2 separate regions of the Homo sapiens genome follow, and region 2 is linked to region 1. The links are contacts of gene promoters, found by promoter capture Hi-C in blood cells and fetal thymus (Javierre and others, 2016). All regions are on one chromosome and are shown on one strand. Each heading gives the region's core, a stretch centred on a gene start or on the middle of the fragment in contact. The rest is flanking DNA. Distances are from core to core; before and after follow the strand shown.

Region 1 (4,742 bases), core at 772-3,271:
CCATCTCCCTGTAAACTTTCAAGTACTATCTCCTTGGTAAACTTTCCAAGTCAAGATAATGTACTGGCAAAAGGAAAACAATTACAGTCCGGATATATATCTTGCATATAATTGTGCATTAAGTCATAAACCTTGGAAAACTAGTAACTTAGTAATAAGTTGCTATTTTAATTATAAAATATTTTCATGTTTTAGACAACCACCCCCGGAATGTTTGTATTCGTTTATACATATTTTGCAAGTGATACTCAAGTTCTGAAGACTAATCTTCATTTCCTACACCATCTTTATTAGACTCTTCCACCTTCGTTTTCCTAAGTAAATACATAACCTAAACCAATGAGTTTCACTCATTTGTCAGCTTCAACCACTGACAAAACCCAGTGGTTGCCTAGTGATGTATAGTTCTACTAAAAGACATATATGACCATGCTTTACCAAATACGGAACACATGTCTAAACTGTTGAGACAACTGCCAATGTATTAACTACAAAAAGCCATTATTTTTTACTTTAGCCTCAACTAAAATCAAAGTGTGAACACTTTATTATGGCTAGAAATTACCCAATATAGATGCATAGGTTTCACTGTTGACTTTCTATTTGGAAACTTCATCAATTGCAAACTACCAGGCTTTCAACCAAAATGCCACATTGGTGAAATGAGTTGGTTTTATTTTCATAACAACATTATTTTGATGGAAGAAATGTGAGCATCCCAGCTTTGACTTGTGGGTAAGCATTTCCTCTGCTTTCAGAACATAAACAGTAAATACCGGTATTGGAAAAACCTGGCCCCAACGAGATTCTTTATCTCTAGGCTAACTGTAGATTCCCGGGAAATCCCAAACAAGGGATGGTGACCCCGCCTCGGCGTCAGGGTCAACACAGCAACCAGCTAGGCTTCAACTTTGGGCTCTGAAGGGCCCCACCGGCATCATGGCTGATGCGGACCGATGCGCCGGAGGAGGTGGACAAGGAAGAGGCTGGTCTGTTTACTTGCAGCCAGAGCTGCCGCCGCCGCCAGCAGCGACAGCATCACTGGATCAGCCAAACCCAGCATCTTCCGCACATTTCTATTCTTAGCACACAACTCCCAAGCGGATCAAAACCCCACTACTATTAAAAACACAGACAAGCACGTTACCCACCTCCCACACACACACCCCCCCCCCCACCCCACCAGTGCCGTCTTTTCCTGCGCGCCAGTGGCGGGGAAGGGTGGGGGAAGGAAGGAGACCCCGGGGACGCCTGTGCATCCTCGCCTTCACCCCACCCCACGCGCAGACAGCCTCAGCGCCAGGGCGCGCGGCAGACGGCTCCCTCCCCCCAACCCAAACACACTGACACCGGCGCTCCACGCGTTATATAACCTCGCCGCCGCCCCCGGTCCAGGCGGGCGCCCCCTCCCCACGCCGCGCGGCCCGGGCGGGGAGGGGCGAGGGGAAGGAGCGAGAGTTGCGCAGACAGCAGGCGCCGGGCCGGGGCAGCCCAGACACAGACGGTACCGCTAGGCCGGGAACACCCCTCCCCCGGCCCGCTGCGCACCGCCGCCCCCCAGCTTTCCCCGGAAAGCGGGGGGTGTCGGTGTCAACCGCGCTGGGCATCCCCCGGCCTCCACACCCACACCCGAAGCCTCCGGTGACCCAGCCCCCGCCCACGCCCCCGGCGCGGTGACAACCCAGAAGCCCCCGCCTCACCCCACCCCGCCGCCATCCCCCGCCTGAGGGAGGCAGGGAGGGCGGACCGGGGCCCGGGGCCCGGAGGGAGTGGAGGCCAGGCGGGGAGGGGGCTAGAGTTGGGGGCGGTGGCTGTTACCTGCAACGGCGGCGGCGGCGGTGGCGGCCCCGCAGCTGCTCGGGCGGCGGCGGAGGATGGAGCCGGGGGGGGGCGGGGGGAGGAGAGGGGGCGACTCGGGGGTCCCCCCTCCCTCCTCCTCCCCTCCTGTCCTCCCCCCACCCCACAGAGCCTCTGGCCTCCTGGAGCCCGGTGCGGCCGGCGGGAGGGCAAGCGAAGGGCTGCAGGGGAGGGAGGGAGGGAGCCGGCCGGGCCGGGCCGCGGAGCTGGAGCGGGAGGCGGCGGCGGCGGCGGCGGCGGCGGGAGGGGGAGGGAGGAGAGAGGGCGGCGGCGGGGAGAGGAGGAGGCGGAGACTCTACATGGGAATCGGATATCGGCTACAAATTCATCACCAGAAAACACCGCTCGGGCGGGGGCCGGGTCACGCCGGCGGGGCGGCGGCTCTGGGCCCCGGGGCGCGCCCGGCGCGGGGAGGGGTTCTGCGGCCTCCTCCCGGGCTGCGCCTCGCTGAGGGGACCCCCCGCCGCCTCCCCGCCCCCTCCTTCCTCCCGCTCGGGGCCGCCGCCGATCGGTTCTCGCCGTCGCCGCGGGGCTTGTTGTTGACTTTGAGGAAAACTCCTGACGTCAGGGGCTGGCTCTCGGCGACTGGCGGGAGCGGCTTCCCCGCGTCCCCGGCCCTGCCCGCCGCCTCTGCTCCCCTCCCTGCCCGGCCCTCGTCCTCAGGCTTCCCCGCGCCCCCAAACCAGCGGTGCCCCGCGCCCCCTCTCCTCTCGCGAGAACATCCCCCTAGCCAGCCAGAGCCGGGAGCGGGGGCAGTCGCTCCCGGGCGGGAAGTTCTGGGTTTCCCCCTCGCCCGCGTGGCCCTTGGCGGGCACCCGAGGCCCGGGAGCGGAGGCTCCTCGCCCAGCCGCTTCCTCGGCGCATCCGCCCACCCGCCCTGGCCGCGGACGCGCGCGCCGCCAGGCCCCGGGCGTCTCCTCCAGTCCGCCGCGGCCCCTTGGGGAGATGGGCCCGGCGCGAGGGCTCGCACCTGGAAGCCCACGAAGTGGGCGGTGCCCAATGAGGTAGGGACCGGAGAGCGCGGAGCAGTCCAGAAGCCGACCCCACCCCCTGCACCTCGGGGAAGAGGGAACCCGGGTCAGCCCGTAGCAAGAATCATTCCTGACTATCCCAGGAGACCACGGCAGACCAAAAACACCTCTCTGAACAGCCTTCCGCACCGCTCGCTGCAAGCATTCGTCCACACACGGTACACAGATTGCGGGCGGATCGTAATTCACTCTTGAAATCACACCCTTTTTAGGGATATTCGTTTTCAATGACTTTGGGAAAGCCACGAGGTACTACATTTACTACGAAGAGACCGTTTCTTTATTTTGAAGTCAGTGACTCCTGAGACTGCATTGGGGACAACTTTTTTGCACAATGACCATATTTTACCATGCAGCGCACTTCAGAAAATTATAAAAGTTTACAAGTTTTATCGCTTCTGGAAACACCTGGGCAGCATCCCTATTATCCCGCCACGTGGCTCTAGCCTTGTTGATGTACCTGTTACTTTCTCCCACTGCAACATTTTTGTTAATGTCTGTGGCTTCTTTCTGCAGAAGAGTTCCTCCTCCTGACATGCACTTCATTCTCTGCTTTTCTATGTCTTGACAACTCTCTTATGGTAGTCATTTTCTTATACTGTAGCCCCCTGGTATTTATGTACTGTGTGGTATTAATATTTATACTTCCAGGTTCACATCTTTTATGAACTGTGCATCTGTTGGGATTGTGGACAGGAGTAGGAAACCAAATAAAAGGGTTTTTTAAAAAAGTCAGTTTTCTCCGTTTGTAAGGGAAACTTGTCTCCCTGACCACCCTGGAGCAAAATTTGCCATTTTAAGATAACACAGTCCGTCTGAGAGAAAGTCCTGCACCATGCCTTTCCCCTTTTCCCATATTTCCCAGCATGCTATGAGCTGATGAATAAACAGACTTTGTCCTATTTTCGTTGTATCTATAAAATATACATAATGTATTCCCATAATTATCAGACCTCTCACAGTCACTATTGGTAAAATTATTGGGTTACAGGTTTCTTGCTGTAAAACACAAAAATAGGTCATATTTTTATTCCATAGTACCCCAACTTGCTTTTTATTTTTAAGAAAATAGTCCCTTATGACACCAGCACTAAAAAGAGTGTCTGAAACTTTAAATACTTAACTTTTGAGAGTCAGAGTATCCGGAATTACTGAATTACTAGATATCTCTTATCAGTGAGATGTTCATTTGTTCCCAAATTTAACATCAATATATTTACAAGAACTGAATGTGTCTTATGAGCCATACTACCTCAAAATATTTCTCCCAGTCTGGTCAGATTGCATTAAATCTTAGGTGGATTAAACCCTAAAATTCAGTATGTGAGAATGGATTATATACTCTCGGCTTCATGTATTTGAAGAATTATAAGTTTTTATTTCTGTTCAATTTTTGCTTGTGGACTATAGTAGTTTCATAAGTTTCCATAATAAAAGCATGTTTGATTTTGTTATTGAATTACTATTGATTAGGGATATTATTTATTTAAATAACGTTGTTCTTTCTCTTAGACTATGCCGGTATGAATTTGGTAGAATCTGCCGATTGTGGTATGTCGGTACTCCATACAGAGTGTGTGGCAGATTTCTTCTCTATTTTGTTATCACATCCAGTAATATGGAGTGCAGCCAGCATGTTCATCCCTGGGAATGTCCCTCCTAAATTTTGCAAAGAAAGCCTTCATTCTTTATTACACCAAATATTCTTAAGATTAACATTTCTCAGTATTAGTTATTTATTCATTTTAAGAAAAATGTTCATTCTTCTTTACTACCAATGACTAAGTTTGATACTGAGCTATTTCTTGGTACTTCCCCCATTTCTTGGGAGTAACTAAAACTGGAAGGATATTT
Region 2 (4,742 bases), core at 1,016-3,515, 520 kb before region 1:
TGAGAAAGACATGATGAAAAAGGAAATAACGAAAGAAAGGGAGTACATGGGATCAAAGGTACTTAAGGACTCTGCTGTTATCCACATTGCAGAAGAAAGGTTTTTTATGATGCCATTGATGATTCCATAGGCTGGAGTTCTTGAATGAACTTTAAATTTTAAAATCGTTATTATATAAGTAGTTAAATTTCGTATAATTTAGAATTCATAAAAATGTTTTATCTTTTCATATATTTCTCAATAGTTTATGCTGATCTTTTCAAATAAAATAATCAGTTAGATTCCATACAATGAAATTACAAAATTTACTTTAAATCCTGCCATTCTGTTGGATTCCCTCTCTCGTGTTTCCCAGAGTCGTGCTATGAAGATACCCAGATTTTATTTCAACCTTGGCTAAATCAAGGAGAGATGACTTCCCCTGCATTATCTCCTACCCCTAAATTAAATATGCAGAAGATGAAACACTTGTAAGGAACTGAGTAACCAAGAAAAAGTGATTATGCACTCTGTATGAAATCAGTTCTGACAAATTACATGATGAATAATGACGGTAACCAGATGAAGGGAGAGATTTAAGGCAAAAGGAACAGATAACATGAAACAAGCAGTGTTTGAAAAGGAGTTCACAAACTAGAATACAGAGTTGAGTGGGACCTAGCTTTAAAATTGCTAACTAGACTCGAATTGAGCAAGTTGTGGTCCATCAAGTAACCAAAACAACTGTGTTACATGTTTGTTTTTAAAAGTGGACTCACAGCTTGTACTCTAAATGCTATGTTGTTATCAGATTCAATGTGTGATAATTAACTTATTCAGTAAGTATATACTGAGTATGTGCTGTGTGCAAAGCAATGTGGAGGCCTAAAGATATGTAAAGAGAAAAATCACAACTTCTGCCCTATGAGTTTTAAGTCTTAATAAGAGTAAACTCAGGCATTTCCTGTAAATGTCCTTGTCTTCTTATCCATTTTTAAAAATTGTGTCTGTCAAAACCCTACTACCTACCTTCTCTGCCCTGGATTGGTGATCTCTGCTGGTAAAAATCACACAGCCTTGCAGATGACATGGCTGTAGACTCCAGGTCTTCGGTGTCCACGGTCCTTTCAGTGCTTTCTAGCAGTCCTCTTTTGCCTTCCTCTCTCTTATTCATTCCACACTCAACAGATATTAACCAGAGGGGCTGGGAATGTTGTAGTCACAGGAACGATGCAGTTTCCTCATGAAGCTTACAAACTCGTAGGAGAAGTAGATGTTACACAAATGTTTTCATAAGTGAGTTTTCGATCATCATTGTGATAAAGCCATAAGGTTCGGTTTAGGATATCGTGGGAATGTGTAACAGGAATCTGACCTTGTCTAGGCAGTCACGAAAGACTTTCCTGAGTAAGAGATGTTGAAAATGAGACCTGAAAGCATTGATGAATGGACAGGTGAAGAGGGGAAGAGGGTTTCAGGCCCAGGAATATAACACACCCAAGACTCTGGACCTGGAAAGCATCGCACTTTCTAGGAATTTGGAGAAGGCCCTGATGGGTGGAGCATAGAGAGAGAGGAGCAGAGTAGTGGGAATGAGTTTGGAGAATTATGTTGGGATGGAATCATGAATGGCTTTAAAATCCATATGAAGGATTTTCAATTTTGTCCAAAAAGGGATGGAAAGCCATTGAATGGCTTTGAATTTGTCAGTGTCACGATGCCATTTATATTTGAGAAAAATCATTTTGTCAGTGGATTGGAAGGAGAAGCAGAATAGATGCCTGGAGATCAGCTGGAGGTCATTATCGTAGTCCAGGTCTGGAGGTGACTCACAGTCCAGGTCTGGAGGTGATTATCATAATCCCCCTCTGGAGGTGATTATCATAATCCAGCTCTGGAGGTGATTTTCGCAGTCCAGGTCTGGAGGTGATTATCACGGTCCCGGTCTGGAGGTGATTATTGCTGTCCAGGTCTGCAGGTGATTATTGCGGTCTCAGTCTGGAGGTGATTATCACAGACCCGGTCTGGAGGTGATTATCGCGGTCCCGGTCTGGAGGTGATTATCGCAGTCCAGGTCTGGAGGTGATTTTCGCGGTCCAGGTCTGGAGGTGATTTTCGCGGTCCAGGTCTGGAGGTGATTATTGTGGTCCGGGTCTGGAGGTGATTATCGTGGTCCCGGTCTGGAGGTGGTTATCGTAGTCCAGGTCTGGAGGTGATTATCGTGGTCCCGGTCTGGAGGTGGTTATCGTAGTCCAGGTCTGGAGGTGATTATCGTAGTCCAGGTCTGGAGGTGATTATCGTAGTCCAGGTGGGAAGTGATGGTATCTTAAATGCATTTCTTTAAAGACTGTTTCAAATCACTTGTTCTTCTCAAATTCTCTATAATACCATTTTTCCTCTTATTCTCAGCAGAGAGCCTTACTTAACTAACAAAGAAAATGGAAGCCGTTGGGTGATGACCACCTCAACTATTTCTCTTGTCCATGCCTTAAAATAAATTTTCACCTGTATTCCAACCCAGTCTGAATGGGAAAGGTGTCTTCCTAATCCCTTCCCCTTCCCATGGACCTCGTCTCCTTTCACCCCCTCAAGGAACTCATTCCATTTGTTTGTTCCACTTTTCTGAATCAATCTTTCCTTCACTACAGTCTCTTTCTTATCCTCAGGAAAATATTTTCAGATGTCTCTTACTGTTGAAAGGAACAATCTTTCTTCTAATCTGTGGTTCTTAATTTTTGGCACGCAAGAAGTTCTAAAAATCTGATTGTCCAAACAGTACCCCACACCCATTACATCAAAATGTCTGAGAGAAGCATCCAGGTGTCAGTGTGTTTGAAACTCACCTAGGTGATTCCAATGTGCAGCCAAGGTTGGAAACCACGTCAGTAATTCCATCTCCCTCTTTGACTCTTTCTCTTAATAGTCGAGTTTCTTGAAAGATTTGTCCATACATGTTGTCTTTATTTTGTCACCTCTCACTTACTCTTCAGCCCACTGCATTTCAACTTCCATGCCACAGCCAGTGAAATTACCATTGCTATGTTCACTGAAGATCTGTTTACACTATATTTACTGATTTTTTTTCAGTCTTATTCTCCTTAAAAGATTCTCTATGATTTCTTTGAATTCATATTCTTGATTTGGGAGAATGATGATGTGTGCTTTTTACATTACTCTGAGTTTAAAGTGCCTTTGAGACAATAAAGGAGACACATCCAGAAAGCAGCTTGATAGGAGGTTCTGGAGTTTAGCAGGGAGCTAAAGATTTAGGTGTCTTTAGCAGTACTATAGCTTGAATTCCATGTATATATAGCCTTAGGACCTAAAGCTTCAAGACTAAAGCTATTTGATTTCTAGATCCTTAACTGTATACTGAGCTCCCAAACCAGCTTTACTTTCCACCTCCTATCCCAGTGGATCCACTATTTATCCAGTTATCCAGCACAGAAATCTTGTCACCCTTTTCTCCCCCGTCTTTCTCACCCCACACATCTCATCATCACCAGGCTCTAAGACTTAAGCCCCTGAGCATTTACATTGCCTTGTCTCTCTATCCTACTGCTACCATATCTCATCCTTGGATGGTTCCTATAGCCCCTGTGGTGTCCTTGCCTCCAGTCTCACCTCCTTCCTATCTGTTCTCCAAACTGCAGCTGGGATGATCTTTCTCAATATGTCAGTCTCTTGCTTTAAAACTCCTTTCACGTCTCCCTGCAACCTTGAATAAAATTTAGGATCCTTTATCATAGCATGAAGACTCTACAATATTGTTCCTCTCTTTGGCTCTCCGGTCTTATGTTCCTTCATTTTTCTTCTTTGCACCCTCACCACACTGACCTACTTGTGCTTCCCCAAGCATGTACATATGCCTCTCTTCCATACTGTTTTTTCCAGTGCAGGATATTGCATGTGCTTTGCCCTCTGCCTAGAGGAGTCTTCCTCTGCCCTCTTTAACTGATTCTTCAGAGTTGTTTGTTTGTTTGTTTGTTTGTATTTGAGACAGGGTCTCACTCTGTCACCCAGGCTGGAGCTCAGTGGGGTGTTCACAGCTCACTTAGCCTCGACCACTTGAGCTCAGGTAATCCTCCCACCTCAGCTTCCCAGGTAGCTGGGACTAGAGAGGTGTGCCACCATGCCTGGCTAATTGTGTTTTTTATAGAGACAGGTTTTTGCCATGTTGCCCAGGCTGATCGCGAACTCCTGGGGTCAAGCAATGTACCCTCCTTGGCCACTCAACGTGCTAGGATTACAGGCGTGAGCCACTGCGCGTGGCCCAGAACTTTTCTTGGTACCACCTCGTCTCCGCGCCTCCCATAGCTGAATTGGGACCGTCTCCTGTGGGCTCCCATAGCTCACTTCATTACAAATTCATGTCGAATAGCTTGCCTCCCCTAGTTCAGTGAGTCCCTTGCATGTAACATCCTCAATGCCTGGCACATTCCTCTCATGTAAAATGTGCTCAGTATATATTAGATGAATGAAGGAATGAATTACAAGGAAAAGAAAAAAGTCCCTATGCCATTGGGAAGTTATGGCTAAAATGCTGAGAGTTCAGAGGATCAGAACTGATTGTCTGCAAGAGATCATGGAAGGCTTTGGGGAAAAAATGGCATTTTCGTTGAGCTTCCAAGAATAGATGGGGTTTAGAAACGCAGAGTATGGGGGAAGGAACGCCACCTGTAACCAATATGAATAAGACATGGAAGGGAGATGAAGTTGCGAATTGAGTGTTGTGTGAGAGAGAATGGTATCAATAGCAAACA

The links. The method cuts DNA at HindIII sites, captures the fragments that hold promoters and counts their contacts. A CHiCAGO score of 5 or more calls a contact.
Region 2: a fragment that was not itself captured here is called in contact with the fragment with the promoter of AKT3 in region 1 in 1 of 17 cell types (monocytes); the score reaches 5.3 in monocytes.

What each region holds. Positions count from the first base shown.
Region 1 is chr1:243,848,222-243,852,963 of GRCh38, forward strand. It overlaps AKT3 (AKT serine/threonine kinase 3), which reads right to left and starts at 2,022. Exons shown (of 14, transcript NM_005465.7): 1 at 1,819-2,022. RefSeq lists an enhancer at 931-1,431. The HindIII fragment of the contact is 10,171 bases long and covers 1-4,742 here.
Region 2 is chr1:243,330,635-243,335,376 of GRCh38, forward strand. It overlaps SDCCAG8 (SHH signaling and ciliogenesis regulator SDCCAG8), which reads left to right. Exons shown (of 18, transcript NM_006642.5): 10 at 1-58. Among named protein-coding and RNA genes, the nearest start is that of MIR4677, 13 kb to the right of the region's middle. The HindIII fragment of the contact is 2,079 bases long and covers 1,227-3,305 here.